Linked DNA regions of Homo sapiens: all the other regions are linked to region 2. The links are contacts of gene promoters, found by promoter capture Hi-C in blood cells and fetal thymus (Javierre and others, 2016). All regions are on one chromosome and are shown on one strand. The core of a region is centred on a gene start or on the middle of the fragment in contact, and the rest is flanking DNA. Distances in the headings are between cores, read along the strand shown.

Region 1 (3,714 bases), core at 1,160-3,659, 600 kb before region 2:
GAAAAAAAAACAAAAAGGAACCAGAAAAGTGGGAAGGCACAGACTGCCTGCCTTCTAGTTAAAAATGCAGATATTATAGTTACATTCACTAAATGTTCACCCACAGATGAACATCACCTGATTTGTCTGTCTCAAGACATTCAGACAACCACAGATTCTGGAGTATCCCTAAAAGACTGTTGCTGGGATACACAGTACAAGTCCCCATCTTGACCATTTCATCTCAAGCAGGGTTTCTCAACCAAGGCACCACTCGAATTTTAAGCTGGGTAATTCTTTGTCATGGGGGTCTGTCTTGTATGCACTGCAAAAAGTTTAGCAGTATCCCTGGCATCTATCCACAAGAAACCAGTAGCAACACTCGACCCCCCCCCCGCCCCATCCCAAGTTGTGACAAGCAAAAATGTCTCCAGATTGAGCCAAATATCCTGCGGGGCAAAATCACCCCTAGATGAGAACCACAGCTCTAGTTTTCAGAACTGACTTTTCCAATGGGATGCAAAGCAGACCCTTTGTCCCAAGTTCTAGTGGCCTCAATATAATCGCTGGGGCAGGCGTCCGCTGAAGAAGGATGGTGGAAACAGATCCCGCAGGGCTTCACACAGCCCACCTTACTCCCACGCATGGTGCATGCAGATAAGCTGGAAGGCAGAACACAGTGGCCATTTCAGTCTTGGCTAATGAAAAGAAGCTACAAGGAAATCTGAGTGTGCACTTAAAACGCTCTGCCTCCAGAAATCGACTGCTGCAACATTTGTAATGGGCAGAACATTTACACGGAGCTTTCGCCTTCAATTCGCCAAGCTTTCAGTGTCCGTTAATATTCCCAAGGGACAGGGTTGGCCCTCTTCCATCTTCAAGATGATTCGGGTTTCCTGGTGAACAAAATGAGCCTCTAATGCCTAATATTTTCTGTCTGACAGATGGTTTCAGATGTATCAAAGTGCTAATCCTTGCTGAGGTATAGGTCTCAAGGAAGAAGAGTTTGGCTTTTAGAATGATAGGACTGGAATGATTAAGAAGGAAAATTACTCCCAGGATTTCACCATTACCATGTGAGCAATCGGCTTAAAACGAAGGAAACAAGCAGAATCGGAAAAACAATTTGAGGAAAAAGAAGAGAAAACACTACAAACCCCAGGTTAACAGTTTGGGTTTGAAACAGTCCCACTCAAAAAACATCTTGGGGAGTGGAAATGAAGTGCAGTAAAAGCACCTTTCCACTCAGAAGGATCAGGGTTCCATCTGGCTCCCCCAGTCACCATTCTCAGCCTGGGTGCTTGGAGGAGGCTCTGGACAGAGGCCTGGGGTTGGATATATTTGCCTTGTCACTTACTTGCTGTGTGACCTTGGGAACGTTATAAAACCTCTGAGCCTCTCAGTTCCCTCATTTGTAAAATGGGCATGTTTTACATATATACTTCAAGGTGAGCTTGTGCAAATGAAACGATCCAACATATGCCTAACCTGACGTGTAATAGGCATTCAGTGAATTTTAACTGTAAATATGAACTGGTACTTAGCGTCGACTTATGTGAGGACTGCTTTCATATACATGATCACCTGAGTCTCACAGGAGGCTCGGCATTTTAGCATAGATGACGTAGCCACAAACATTCACAGATGAGGATACTGAGAGTCCTAGAGGTTGAGCAACTTGTCCACGGTCACAAAGCTGCACATGGCAGGATTCGAACCCGGCTCTCCCTAACCCTCGAGCCAAGTTCTTTCCACGGCACCACGTGGAGCTCACAGAGGGGAGGTGTGTGTGTTGGGGAGTCAGGTCACCGCAAGGGGTTAGAGATCACTCACTGTACTCCTCCAATCTCATTAGGGGCCGGAAGTAGATGGGATAGAAGGCGGCGCCGATCAGGGAGATGAAGCCGCCGAAAATGAGCGCGGTGCGCAGGTTCCGGGACATGGCGTCAGGCCCCGGGCTGCCCTGACCCGCCGACCGCCCGGCACTCTCGGAAACCAGGTTACCGACGGCCGGGCCGTGACCCCGCTCGGAAGAGGTGGAGAGGCTTTCGCTTCCGGGCCTTGAGGGAGGGACGAGGAGGAGGGGCGGAGCGGAGAAAGAGACAGGGGTGGAGTCAGAGGCGGGGCCTCAAGGCTGGGGGCGGGGCCAGGAAAGGGGTGGGGTCACAGGCGGGGCCTCGGACCCCGCCCTCCGCCTTCCCCGGGATTCCGTGCTGTGCGGGCCGGGCGCTGGCGTTGGATTGAGGTTGGAGCTGTTTTGCTGCACTCGATTCCCGCGGGCCCTGTTCTGTCTACTTTCCTTCCTTCGGCCCGGTTCCTCCCTCAGCACCCTCCAGACCTCCTTTACCATCGCCTTCTTTACCAGCCAGCTTTCTCGTCCATCCCCCGTTAATTTCTTAATTAGCGACTGTCCGCCGTGCGCCAGATGCTCTCTGTCGCTCGCGCAATTAATCCTTTTATCAGTCTGCTTAGTTTACAGGAGAGGGAACCGCGGCTCCGCTGCGCGGCTTTGGACGAGTCACTCGTCCTTCTTGAGGGAGGTTTGTACGTATCAGAGACAAAGGGGCAAATCTCTGGCCCGAGAGGGCCTGCTGGGGGATTCTAAAACCGGAGCTGCGGGGCTTCTGCACCAAGACTAGCCTAGGAGGAACGTTGTTTCAGCATCCGAGCTACTCTCTTTCTCCATCCCATCCTCTCTCCCTCCATCCCATCCTCTCTCCCTGTTCCCTGTGCTGGGATGCCTTGGCCAAGGCAGAGAGCCAGCATCCGGTCCCATCCATGGGGCCACGGGGCGCTTCCGTATTGTCTGGGTGGGGGCCACCGAGAACAGATACCTGTTTCCTCCTCCTCAAGTTGCCATCCTCCGCCCTCTGCACCACACTGCCCTTACAAGTGGGCTGTGCCTGACTATGACCTGCCCAGGGATACTGGGCAGCTGAGACACAGATTCCTTGGGCCTCCATGCCTTTATAAATAGGAATCATGCCAGCAGCTGGGCCTGGGGAGCAAAGAGGATATCTGTCTTGACCCTAGCAGCATTATTTAGGCCACAACAGATCTACAAGCGTTTCAAAATAGCTTGGAGAGGACAGGTTTCCTCTTTCTTTGTAATCTTGTAGTTGCATCAAGCTACTGTCTACCTCTGTGGCTCTAGAAGCATGTAAATCAGTTATTCAATCTCTCCCCAGATTCATGGACTATCTGCCATGCCCCAAACACCAGGCAGAGTGCTAAGGGGACACAAAGATGAATAAGATGTGACCCCTGCTCTCTAGGATCCTGTCGCATAGATGAAGAGATAGAACATATCCATAAAAAGATAACTAATGACCGACATTGCGTGCTGCCGACACGTGTTATGGTCCTGCGGGCTACAGAAATTCAGAGGAGGAAGACAGATGACTGCAGTGTGGCAGCTGCTCCTCGGGCACTTACAGGAGCTTGTTAGGATGAGGACAGAAGACTTCATAGCACAGAGGGAACTGTGACACCAGCTTTATATCACACGATAGAAAATACCCAGGTGAGGGCTGTGGACAGTGGCTCACGCCTGTAATCCTAGCACTTTGGGAGGCTGAGGTGGGTGGATCATGAGGTCAGGAGTTCGAGACCAGACTGGCCAGCATGGTGAAACCCCGTCTCTACTAAAAATACAAAAAAATTAGCCGGGCGTGGTGGTGCACGCCTGTAGTCCCAGCTACCTGGGAGGCTGAGGCAAGAGAATAGCTGGAACCT
Region 2 (3,701 bases), core at 223-2,722:
ATTTTTATTGGTTTACACGTTCTCAACAAAATTGTCACACATACCAAAAATAAAAAATAAATATCCAAAAAGTTGATATACCTTTTCATCTTCCCACTGAAAAAAATTACAGTCTTTTCTATCTCTACAGGCTGAACAGGCATAAAACCTCCGAGTTTCTTCTTTCCCTTGGGTCACCTTTACAAACAGAAGAGTGGGTCCTAGTTCCAGAATAGAAAAAAAAAAAAAAAGTGTCAAGTAATGGTCATCTACGTCAAGTTCTTAGTTTTCGCTGCCCTTAAATAAAATTTGTTTGAGCTTTAGGCACAATTTATCATAATTAAATCCATCTCTTTGGTTGGTTGTTTTTTGTTTTGTTAGGGTTTTTTGTTTTGTTTTCTTGAGACAGGGTCTCCCTCTGTCGCCCAGGCTGAAGCGCACTGGCACAATCATGGCTCACTGAGATCCTGCTTCCTAGCCTCAAGCGATTCTCCCGCCTCAGCATCCCGAGTAGCTGGGACTACAGTTGCGTGTCCCCAGCTGTTTTTCTTTTTTTGTAGACGGAGTGTCATCATTTTTGCCCGGGCTAGTCTCAAACTCCTGGGCTCAAGCGATCAGCCCGCCTCGGCCCCCCAAGTGCTGGAACTACAGGTGCACGCCACCACGCCGGCTTCTCTGTGTTTAATGAATGTTTCTTTTCTCTCTGTTACAACATTCCGGCAGTGACTACTTATAAATAATTTTTGAAAACCGGTCTCTTCAGAAAGAAAATGCTATTGTCGGTACAGTTGCTGTCTACGTTGTGAATATTACAAACCTGAGACTAAAACAAGGAAGGGACTCAGAGAATTGAGGACTTTGACATCTCTTGCGCGGTTACCCTTGCAGTGAAAACCTGAGCTTTGAGCTGGAAACGCCCACTTTCTGTAAGTTAGAGAAAAACTGAGTCTAGTTCGCAGGCAAGAATTACACTGTTTTTCTCCCTAATTTTTTATTTTTGAAGGGAGAGCAAATCAACAAATGAAATCCCCAAGTACTTGTCAACGAGAACTATTCAATACCATGCATTCTTCTCTTTGCCTACTTTTCTGCCCCTTCCCCCCAAAAGAGATGAAATAGTCCTGGAGCCAAAACCACAAGAGTGGAGACTTGCTCTGAATGTTTCTCAAGTAAGTTGAAAAACACCGCGTTCCGAGGAAGGAGTATTTTCTAGGCAGCACACTGGTGAGGGAAAGAGGCGGGTAAAAATACAGGAGCCCCAAAAGCCACTTCCAAGCCAACTCACACCCTCAGCGCCCGGCAGTTAGGCTGAGCCCAGACTCTGACCCACCGTGAGGGCACAGCGGGGCGGGGACGGCAGGATCCAAAGGAAGCACCACCTCCATTCCCGAGCTTCCCCGGCACCCTGCGCTGCCCTCTGCCTCCACGGCTTCAAACCCATTCCTGGAGGCCGCCATCTTCCCGCCGCCGTCCCGAAAGCCTCAGTACGAAACAAGAATGCTGAGAAAGAGCGCCCCCGCGACCCAAAGCGACCCACAGCGCCCCCAGGCGCTTAGGAGGAGCTTGGGCGGGGGCTGCCGCGGCGGAGGCCACGCCCCGAAACGCAGTCCCCGCCCACCTGGGGGCTGCACCTAAGCGGCCCCTAGCGGTGGGGCTCGCAGGTCACTTGCGGGACCTGTGCCATGAGCTCAGCGCATGAAGCACCCTCCTTTCTTAAGAATATAGCCAGGAAGTGAGATGATTCGAACAAAGACTTGGTTGTATTGTAGGTCCAAAAGGCAGCATTACCACCTCTGCCAAATAGCTGAAATGGCTGCAGCAGCTGTGATTTAAGGATCATTCTTTGTTTTTCAAAGTCACAGTCACTGCATCATCCTCTGTAACTTTTGGACAATGCTGAAAGTTGCACATCATAGTTGCATACTCATTGACATTTATACATAAGAAAGAAAGAAAACCGTCCTGATTTGCAGATGACATGATTGTCCACATTTTAAAAATCCGAAAGAATCTATCAGGAAAACACCTCCGGTTTAAACTGAGTTCAGCAAGGTTGCAGGATATGAGATAAACACACAAACATCAACTGGATTTCTAAATACTAGCAATGATCACAAGAACACTAAAAAATAGAATACCACTTACAATCACTCAAATAAATGAAATAGGTGTAAATCTAACGAAATATGTACAGAGCTTTATGTATGCTAAAAACTCCAAAATGCTTGATTAAAAAAAATCAAGGCTGAGTGCAGTGGCTCACACCTGTAATCCCAGCACTTTGGGGGGCCAAGGAGGGAGGATTGCTTGAATCCAGGAGTTCGAAACCAGCCCGGGCAACAAAGCGAGACGACATCTCTAAAATAAATAAGCAATTTTTAAAGTTTTTTAAAAATCAAAGAATAGCCGGGCACGGTGGCTCACGCCTATAATCCCAGAATTTTGGGAGGCCAAGGCAGGTGGATCACAAGGTCAGGAGATCGAGACCATCCTGGCTAACACCGTGAAACCCCGTCTCTACTAAAAATACTAAAAATACAAAAACAAAAAAATTAGCCAGGCGTGGTGGCGGGCACCTGTAGTCCCAGCTACTCGGGAGGCTGAGGCAGGAGAATGGCGTGAACCCGGAAGGCGGAGCTTGCAGTGAGCCGAGATTGTGCCACTGCACTCCAGCCTGGGTGACAGAGTGAGACTCCGTCTTAAAAAAAAAAAAAAAAAATCAAAGAATAAACAAATGCAGAAACATACTGCATTCATAAATCAGAAGACTCAACATAGTAAAGATATCAGTTCTCCCCAGGTTTAATGCTTATACAGGTGTAGCACAATTGCTATGAAAATCCCAGCCAGATTCTTTTTGTACATTTAGACAATATTCTGAAATTTATATGGAAAGGCAAGGGAACTAAAATAGCTAAAACAATTTTGGAAAAAGAATAATGAAGTGGGAGGAATCAGCCTACTCAATTTCAAGTCTTATAGTGCAGTAATCAAGACGCAGCCACATGTCTATGGTTGTAGACGAAATAGTCTCTTATGTTATTTAAAGAACCATTGGGGCATGTGCCTAGTTAACTTCACACATTGAGTGCTATGGTTTATTACTGTAAAAACATGGCTGTTTTTCTTTCACATTTCATGTAATGGTTTTACTCAAATTCTCCATCTGCACCAGTAGCATCTGTATCTTTGATGTACCAGTGTCCCCTTTTTCAAGTTGTCCAGAACACTTTTTCAGTGTATATTATCTGCACATGTCTGGTCTTTTGAGATAGGAAACTTTCTACAGCTATGATGATGATACTCTCGGACACTATCTCAAGACCTAACTAGCTGGGCACACATTCTCAGGACCCCTTGAGACAGTGCCCTAGGCAGAATAAAAACTAAAAGACCTAACTACCTACTCACATGAACTCTAGCACTTTTATTTACAAATTTGTTTTAGATGTACAAATTTGTGATCTTAAAAGACTTGTTTATAAAATTTGCAAGTGAATTTGTAACTCGTAAAACCAGAGTTACTGAGTCTGTATTTCCTCTTTCTCTTTTAAATAATGCTGATTCTGTGAGGCAACCTCTCTAAGCAGCCAAAACCAGTACAGATGTGCAGCCTTTACAGATAAGCTTCCCCAAACAGTAAAAACACAACAAAGATTGATCCAAATAAGGTAAATGGGAGGGCACTGCAAAATGTGAGAGCTGCTGAAGGTTTCAAACAT
Region 3 (3,500 bases), core at 873-3,372, 740 kb after region 2:
TGCGATCATTACCAGGACCCAAGAGAGGAGTTGCCTGTACCCAACCCAGGAGAGTGGCTGCAATGAGTGTGGCTCAGAGAGTTGCTGATGAGATGGATGTGATGTTGGGCCAGGAAGTTGGTTACTCCATTCGATTTGAAGACTGCAGTAGTGCAAAAACCATTCTTAAGTAAGTACTATATCTTTAATGACGCTTTTAGTCCTCTGCTTGCCATTTTCTGCTATTAGATAGAAGACTTTGCTAGTGCAGGCTTATGTCATCCAAATTTAGAATTATCCAAAGTAGGCCTTCTTAGACTTACCACATGACCTTAGTTTAATTATATATTATTGGTAATCTATAGTTACTTGGTAGAAATTGAAGTTCAAAGGTCAGATTTTAGTTACTTGGTTCTGCATTTTAGGTGAAATGTTACTGATACTGTAAAATGTGTGGTTTTAGTAGACACAATGGTGTATGACTTAATTGTGAAAGAAAAGGAAAGTGATATGTCTTACTTAGTAAAAGATAACTACTTTTAGAAAGAAGAATGTATAGGATGGGATGTGATTTATTTAGGGGAGAGGGGACTTTTAATGTTAATTATGCAGCTATTACCGTGCATCTGTTATAAGCTAAAAAGAGGAATCTTTTGTTCTGTAATACACTGTTAGAGCTGCCTCTAGGTCCTTGTTCCTCTATAGCTATGGTGCAGATAATTGACTACTGTATTGAGCTTTCTAATGTTTTAACTCTACCAACTTTTTATTGTCTTATACTTGCATTCTGCATAAGTTATGATGTATGCTACCTGATGATGATTCTTTCTCAAGTCTTCCCTCTGGTTGCTTCTGCTTATTCTGTATTTATGTGATATTTAAGTCCTTTTAAATGTGACTTGTTTGAGTGGGGCTCAGTGGCATATGCCTGTTTATTCCCAGCCACTTCGTAGGCTGAAGCAGGATTATTGCTTGAGGCCAGGAGTTCAAGGCTACAGTGTGCTCTGATCATGCCTGTGATAGCTACTGCATTTGAACCTGAGCAACATAGCAAGACCACATTTCTTTTAAAAAAAAAGAAAAATCATATCTATGTGATCTTCTCCCTGAGGTTTTTAAAAACCATTTTGGAGCGTTGTGTAGGCAGTGATATGAGTCTTTGTTGTCAGAGTCTTTGTTGTCAGAGAGATATATAGTGTTAATGGGATAAATGAAACAAGAGTCTCTCTTTTTTTTTTTTTTTTTTTTTTTTGAGATGGAGTCTCACTCTGTTGCCCAGGCTGGAGTGCAGTGGCGCCATCTCGGCTCTCTGCAACCTCCGCCTCCCGGGTTCAAGCGATTCTCCTGCCTCAGCCTCTCAGGTAGCTGGGACTATAGGTGTGCGCCACCATGCCTGGCTAACTTTTTGTATCTTTAGTAGAGTTGTGGTTTCACTATGTTGGCCAGGCTGGTCTCTAACTCCTGACCTCATGATCCGCCCGCCTCAGCCTCCCACAGTGCTGGGATTACAGGCGTGAGCCACTACACCCAGCCGCAGAAATTGAATAGAATAATGAACTGCATGTGTTTATCATCGACTTTTAACTATTTCAGTCTTATTTATTTCATATCCAATCTTAATTTATTTCCCTGTCCCATGTTATTTCGAAGCAGTCTTAGATACCAAATAATTATATATATAAATATTTCAGTGTGTATCTCTGAGATAGTTTCTTAAAATAGAGCTATCATAACTTAAAACAATTTATTGGATCAAAATATCCAGTTTTCATTCAACATTTGTGTCAGTTTTTTCTAATTCTTTGATTTATCTCATTTTATTAGAACTTTTTATTCAGCGTGATATTTAATAGCAGTTGAACTTTAAAATATTTAAATAAGCTTATCCTTATGACTTTATGGGACATATTTTTGGCTTAAACCTTAATCTTCACTGAATAAATTCTTGTAGTTGTTCAGTGATACGTTATTGATCACTGGTAATTACAGTATAATTGACAATAATTGCATAAGCAAAATCATAGCTCATTATGTTGTATTACTTTAAAATGCAGGTAATGTCAAGGACTTGAGGATAATAAGGGGGAGATTTTACTCATCTTTAGGAGGAATATCATTATTCTGACTTGATTCACATTGCATTGAATTTTTTTGGTAAGCCACAGTTGAGAACAGAATTTGGAAATTGGGATACAAGAAAGTTATGCAATATTGGTGCTGTGTGTATGTGTAGTAGGAAGTGGGTGGAGGATAGGCTTTCAAAAGATGAGTACCTCTGAAAGATTTTGGTTCACTTCATAGGGAATGACAAGTAACAGATTTTATAGTTCAAATGAAGTATTTTTGGCATTGTGATTTTTTTAATGGAGCATTTTCTAGAGGTTATAACTACTTGTAAAAGCTTACTTAAGACAGGGTAAGCTTATTGGGGTTTCTTCTAGGAGCTAACCTGGTGTTGCCTTTAAGTAATATAAGTAAAGGAGTGTATTATTACAATAAGTTAGCTTAAAATTTAAAAATTTCAAATGTAACTTTGCTATTTGATAGGAAGAACTTAACTAATGGGAATGCTTCATTAAATGTAGCTCTTATCATATATAGATATAAAATGCTTATATATCCATTGTGTAGCCAGGGCGAACTTTAATTTTCACTCTAGGGTGGTAAAGAGGCTAACTTAGGCAGATTATGTTTGAGGAGCACAGAATTTAACCATAGTTTGAGAGCATTTTAGCTAAATAAAGTATCTTTAAATTGTCCGCATATAGATTAAGGGTCTATAAGATAGTTTCTTCAGTGTTTGGGATACCTATTCATAAATTTTAGGTTATAGATCTGACACTGTGCTCTTTTCGGAAGATTGGATCTGGTATAACTTAGTGCACACTCTGTTAGTCTAGCCTTAAATGGCTACCCCATCCCAGTGAACAAGTAAGTTTACAAAGCTGCCACTCCTAAATGGTTTTTATATTTCCTTTTTTATGTGTTTGCTTGTCCCCATCCTTTTCTTCTGAAGCATTCTTTTTGCAACATACTTACTTTCCTGTTTTCTTGGAGTGGAAATTATGAAGAAAAAACCCAAAGAGATACCTAAAGAGCTTACCAGTCAGGGAACAATATATTGCTGTATTTGTGACTAGTCAGTGTAAAATACCTTGATTCATTTTGATGTAAGGAAGGAGAGGTTGTTGGCTTCTGGTGTAGCCCTTTTGCAGTGGATTTTAAGAAGCATTTGTCTGTGGTTGTAACTTTTTTTTTTTTTTTTTGGAGACGGAGTCTTGCTCTGTCGCCCAGGCTGGAGTGCAGTGGCACGATCTCGGCTCACTGCAGCCTCCACCTCGCGGGTTCAAGCCATTCTCCTGCCTCAGCCTCCCAAGTAGCTGAGATTACAGGCCCCCGCCACCACGCCCAGCTAATTTTTGTATTTTTAGTAGAGACGGGGTTTCACCACATTGGCCAGGCTGGTCTCAAACTCCTGACCTTGTGATCCGCCCGCCTCTGCCTCCCAAAGTGCTGGGATT
Region 4 (3,710 bases), core at 682-3,181, 760 kb after region 2:
TCTCCTGCCTCAGCCTCCCAAGTAGCTGGGACTACAGGTGCCCGCCACCACACCCGGCTAATTTTTTGTATTTTTAGTAGAGACAGGGTTTCACCGTTTTAGCCAGGATGGTCTCAATCTCCTGACCTCGTGATCCACTCTCCTCGGCCTCCCAAAGTGCTGGGATTACAGGCGTGAGCCATCGCACCCGGCCAGATGTAGCGTTTCTAAGCTTCTTTTCAATAGGGTGTTTATAGGTGTGCTGTGGAATACCTGAGTGGCTAAATAAATTCAGAAGCTATTTGGATAATACAAAGTTTTAAAAAGCCTTTTACGAAAGGGTTTTTCTTTTTCTTTTTGGGGGTGGGGAGGGAAGACAGAGTCGCGCTCTGTCAACCAGGCTGGAGCGCAGTGGCATGATTATCGGCTCACTGCAACCTCTGCCTCCCGGGTTCAAGCGATTCTCTTGCCTCAGCCTCCCAAGTAGCTGGGATCACAGGTGCCCACCATCACACCTGGCTAATTTTTTTTTAATTTTTAGTAGAGACGGGGTTTCACTATGTTGGCCAGGCTAGTCTCGAACTCCTGACCTCAGGTGATCTGCCCTTCTCGGGTTCCCAAAGTGCTGGGATTATAGGCGCGAGCCACCACACCTGGCCCCAAAATGCTTTTTTGATGGCATATAAACAGCATTTGTGCTGTAATGTAGTATTGAGGCTGTTGGGATAATCGTTTTGTCCTCTTGTGTCTGGTCTCTAGTTTCTCATTTCCTCCAAAGTGCATAGTATATTTTTATTTTTATTTATTTTGTTTTATTATTTATTTATTTGAGATGGAGTTTTGCTCTTGTTGCCCAGGCTGGAGTGCAGTGGCGCGATCTCGGCTCACCGCAACCTCTGCCTCCCAGGTTCAGGTGATTCTCCTGCCTCAGCCTTCCGAGTAGCTGGGATTACAGGCATGCGCCACCATGCCCAACTAATTGGTATTTTTGGTAGAGATGGGGTTTCTCCGTGTTGGTCAGGCTGGTCTTGAACTCCCAACTTCAGGTGATCCACCCGCCTCGGCCTCCCAAAGTGCTGGGATTACAGGCGTGAGCCACTGCACCTGGCCATATTTTTATTTTTTAAATCACTATTTAAAATTGTCATCATTCTCAGATAACATAAGCGTATTGAGATTCTATCAGAAATATCAAATGGCCTCATGGTTAAGGACCCGAAAGGTTTTTCTCTGAGACAACTTTGTGCGGTATTTTCTGTGAATCCCACAGCTGGGGAAAGGAAGGGAGTAAGCCGAAGGGTTTTCAGATGTATGCTAGAGTGTCTTTCATGAAATAAAATGCTGCTCTAGTTGTCAGCTGTTTTTTTGCATACCATTGCTTCTTTAAGTTATCTTTAGATTCCCAGTCTTGAATTTGAAGAGTTTTGGGGAGAAGGTAGCAGAAAACCTAACGTTTTGTTTACATTTCATTTGTTGTATTTAGTAGTAGAGCTGGTCTAAAGTAAATATTACCTTCTCATTTTTGTGAACCTTCATTATTTTTACTTGGTAAGTTAAATGCAACTGCGAAATCAGTACTCCTTTCTTCATAAATTTGAATAGCCTCCATGAAATTGAGTAATCTCATAAAAATTTAAAACTGGTTTTTAAGAACATATTCTGACCACTAAATAAAAGTGCTTCTGTAGTCACATGAGTTAATTTGGGAGGGAGAGAGAACAGTTTAAAGTGTTGCCTAGATAGTAATTAGATAAGAGTGATTGTAATTAAATAATTTTATTTTTAATTTTGCTTAGTAAATTTTTTTTTCAACATGCAGTGAGTTAATTGGTAAGGTCCAGATTAATTTACTAACATATTGCTGCTTTTGGAGTTAAAAATCTTTTCTCAAATCAAAAACTCCTGAACTGTCTGTCTTTATTCTCAGTATTGCTAATGACTAAGCAGATGGCTGCTGTTGAAACTTCTTTTCCTCCACTACCTGTTTCTGTTTATATTCTGATGAATGCAGATAAGTTTTGTGGCATTCTCAGCTGATAGTGTTGACTTCTTGGAAGTTTGGCAAACCTCAGGGAAAATTTTTATTGCAAGTTTTAAAGCTGTTTAGGACTTTATCTAAAAACTTAAGTGTTACGGGATTTCTTCCACATTTTAGAGATGCCTTTATATCCTACATAGTCATCATTTTGTTTTAGCTCCTTGCATACTTAGCAGATTGGGTAGTCTAATCTCCAGTAAAGTTGGAATTGTCATTTTAAAATACTGGAATCACAAAGCAAATGTCTAATTTAAGCACTTAATTTTTAATGTGTGAAATCTGGATATTTTGTGATTTCTGAGCATTTATTTTTCATTTATGTACAGTAAAATTAACAAAATTGCAGATACTCTTAAATGTTGGAATCCTAGTTTTATATTATGTTCAAATGTTTTTTAAGTTGGAGAGCTCTTAATTTTTTATTTGCATGCCAGCAGGGGGCATTCTAATCTAGATACAACATTTGAAAGCAGTATTTTCAAAAAATATTTGTTCGCTTTGTTATATTTTTTATTTAGATGAATAGCATCTACTTTCATTTTCTTTTAGAAACTTGAGATTTCAAAGGAGGATCTAGTAACATTGAATCTTTAATAGTTTTCTGTGTCACAATTTTTGAGACAGATAACCTTTAAAAAAAACTGATGTGTTTGAAATAAGTGAAAAGTAATTTATTTGTTCTTACTGTGTTTAAGAACGTTGTGTTTTTTGATATAGAGACACAGTTGGACATTAAAAAAATATAAAGTAAATGTCCTAAAATTCTTCCTCACCGTTTAGTATCATTGTCCTTTGAAAAAAACACGCACTTTGTTGACAAGGGTAGCTTCTGATTGGGTCATTTATTGGACAGGCTGCCTAGTGTATAATAAGCGTTTTACATACTTCTGGGTTTAATTGAATTAATACTTCAATAAAATTTAGAATACATTTGTCCGCAGTGCTGCCTTCCATTTTTAAGTTCCTTTGCCTCTCCCAGAGCTATCATACATAATCTGTCTCTCTCTTTTTTTCCGTCTTGATATTCATTATGTCTCCTCTTGAATGCACATGTGTTAGAATATAGTCATGTGCCACATAACAACGTTTTGGTCAAGACAAACTTCTCAGATAGCTGTGGTGCTGCTCCCGTAAGATTATAGTGGAGCTGAACGTAACCTTGCAGCATCACAGCACAACACATTACTCACTGCTTTGTGATGATGCTAGTTCAAACAAACCTACTTTGCTGCCAGTTGTTTTAAAAGTACTATATAGTATGTACAATTATGTCCAGTACATAATAATAATGATAATAGGACATTGTTAGTGGTTTTTGTATTTACTATACTACATGTTTTATCATTATTTTAGAGTGTTCTCCTTCGACTTAAAAATGTTAACTGTAAAACAGGCTTAGGCAGGTCCTTCAGGAGGTGTTCTAGGAGAAGGCATTGTTATCACAGGAGATGACAGCTCCATGTGTGTTACTGGCCTTTGGAGACCTTCCAGTGGGTTAATACGTTAAGGTGGAAGATAGTGATATTGATGATCCTGACCCTGTGGGGGCCTAGGTTAAGTGTGTGTTTGTGTCTTTTAACCAAAAAGTTTAATAAGTTGAAAAAGTAAAAAATTTTAAATTGGAATGAAGCTTATAGAATAAGGATATAAAGAGAAAATACTTTTGCACAGCCATACGGTGTGTTTGTGTTTT

What was found. Contacts are between HindIII fragments. The CHiCAGO score rates a contact against its expected background, and 5 or more counts as called.
Region 1: a fragment that was not itself captured here is called in contact with the fragment with the promoter of ZCCHC4 in region 2 in 3 of 17 cell types (non-activated CD4 T cells, naive CD8 T cells and total CD8 T cells); the score reaches 7.2 in non-activated CD4 T cells.
Region 3: a fragment that was not itself captured here is called in contact with the fragment with the promoter of ZCCHC4 in region 2 in 2 of 17 cell types (total B cells and naive B cells); the score reaches 5.5 in total B cells.
Region 4: a fragment that was not itself captured here is called in contact with the fragment with the promoter of ZCCHC4 in region 2 in 3 of 17 cell types (erythroblasts, fetal thymus and monocytes); the score reaches 6.6 in erythroblasts.

Annotation. Positions count from the first base shown.
Region 1 is chr4:25,912,521-25,916,234 of GRCh38, reverse strand. It overlaps SMIM20 (small integral membrane protein 20), which reads right to left and starts at 2,015. Exons shown (of 3, transcript NM_001145432.3): 1 at 1,813-2,015. The coding sequence starts at 1,921. It overlaps LOC105374538 (a long non-coding RNA gene), which reads left to right and starts at 2,149. Exons shown (of 3, transcript XR_925502.3): 1 at 2,149-2,224. RefSeq lists enhancers at 1,770-1,899, 1,970-2,069, 2,179-2,728 and a silencer at 2,110-2,289. The HindIII fragment of the contact is 3,206 bases long and covers 807-3,714 here.
Region 2 is chr4:25,310,545-25,314,245 of GRCh38, reverse strand. ZCCHC4 (zinc finger CCHC-type containing 4) reads right to left here and starts at 1,472. Exons shown (of 13, transcript NM_024936.3): 1 at 1,310-1,472; 2 at 82-200. The coding sequence starts at 1,436. RefSeq lists enhancers at 1,354-1,413, 942-1,818, 3,406-3,545 and silencers at 1,412-1,616, 1,624-1,693. The HindIII fragment of the contact is 7,197 bases long and covers 1-3,608 here.
Region 3 is chr4:24,567,323-24,570,822 of GRCh38, reverse strand. DHX15 (DEAH-box helicase 15) reads left to right here. Exons shown (of 14, transcript NM_001358.3): 3 at 1-169. Among named protein-coding and RNA genes, the nearest start is that of DHX15, 15 kb to the left of the region's middle. The HindIII fragment of the contact is 520 bases long and covers 1,863-2,382 here.
Region 4 is chr4:24,550,420-24,554,129 of GRCh38, reverse strand. All of the region lies in intron 5 of DHX15 (DEAH-box helicase 15), which reads left to right. Among named protein-coding and RNA genes, the nearest start is that of MIR573, 32 kb to the right of the region's middle. RefSeq lists an enhancer at 372-940. The HindIII fragment of the contact is 3,436 bases long and covers 214-3,649 here.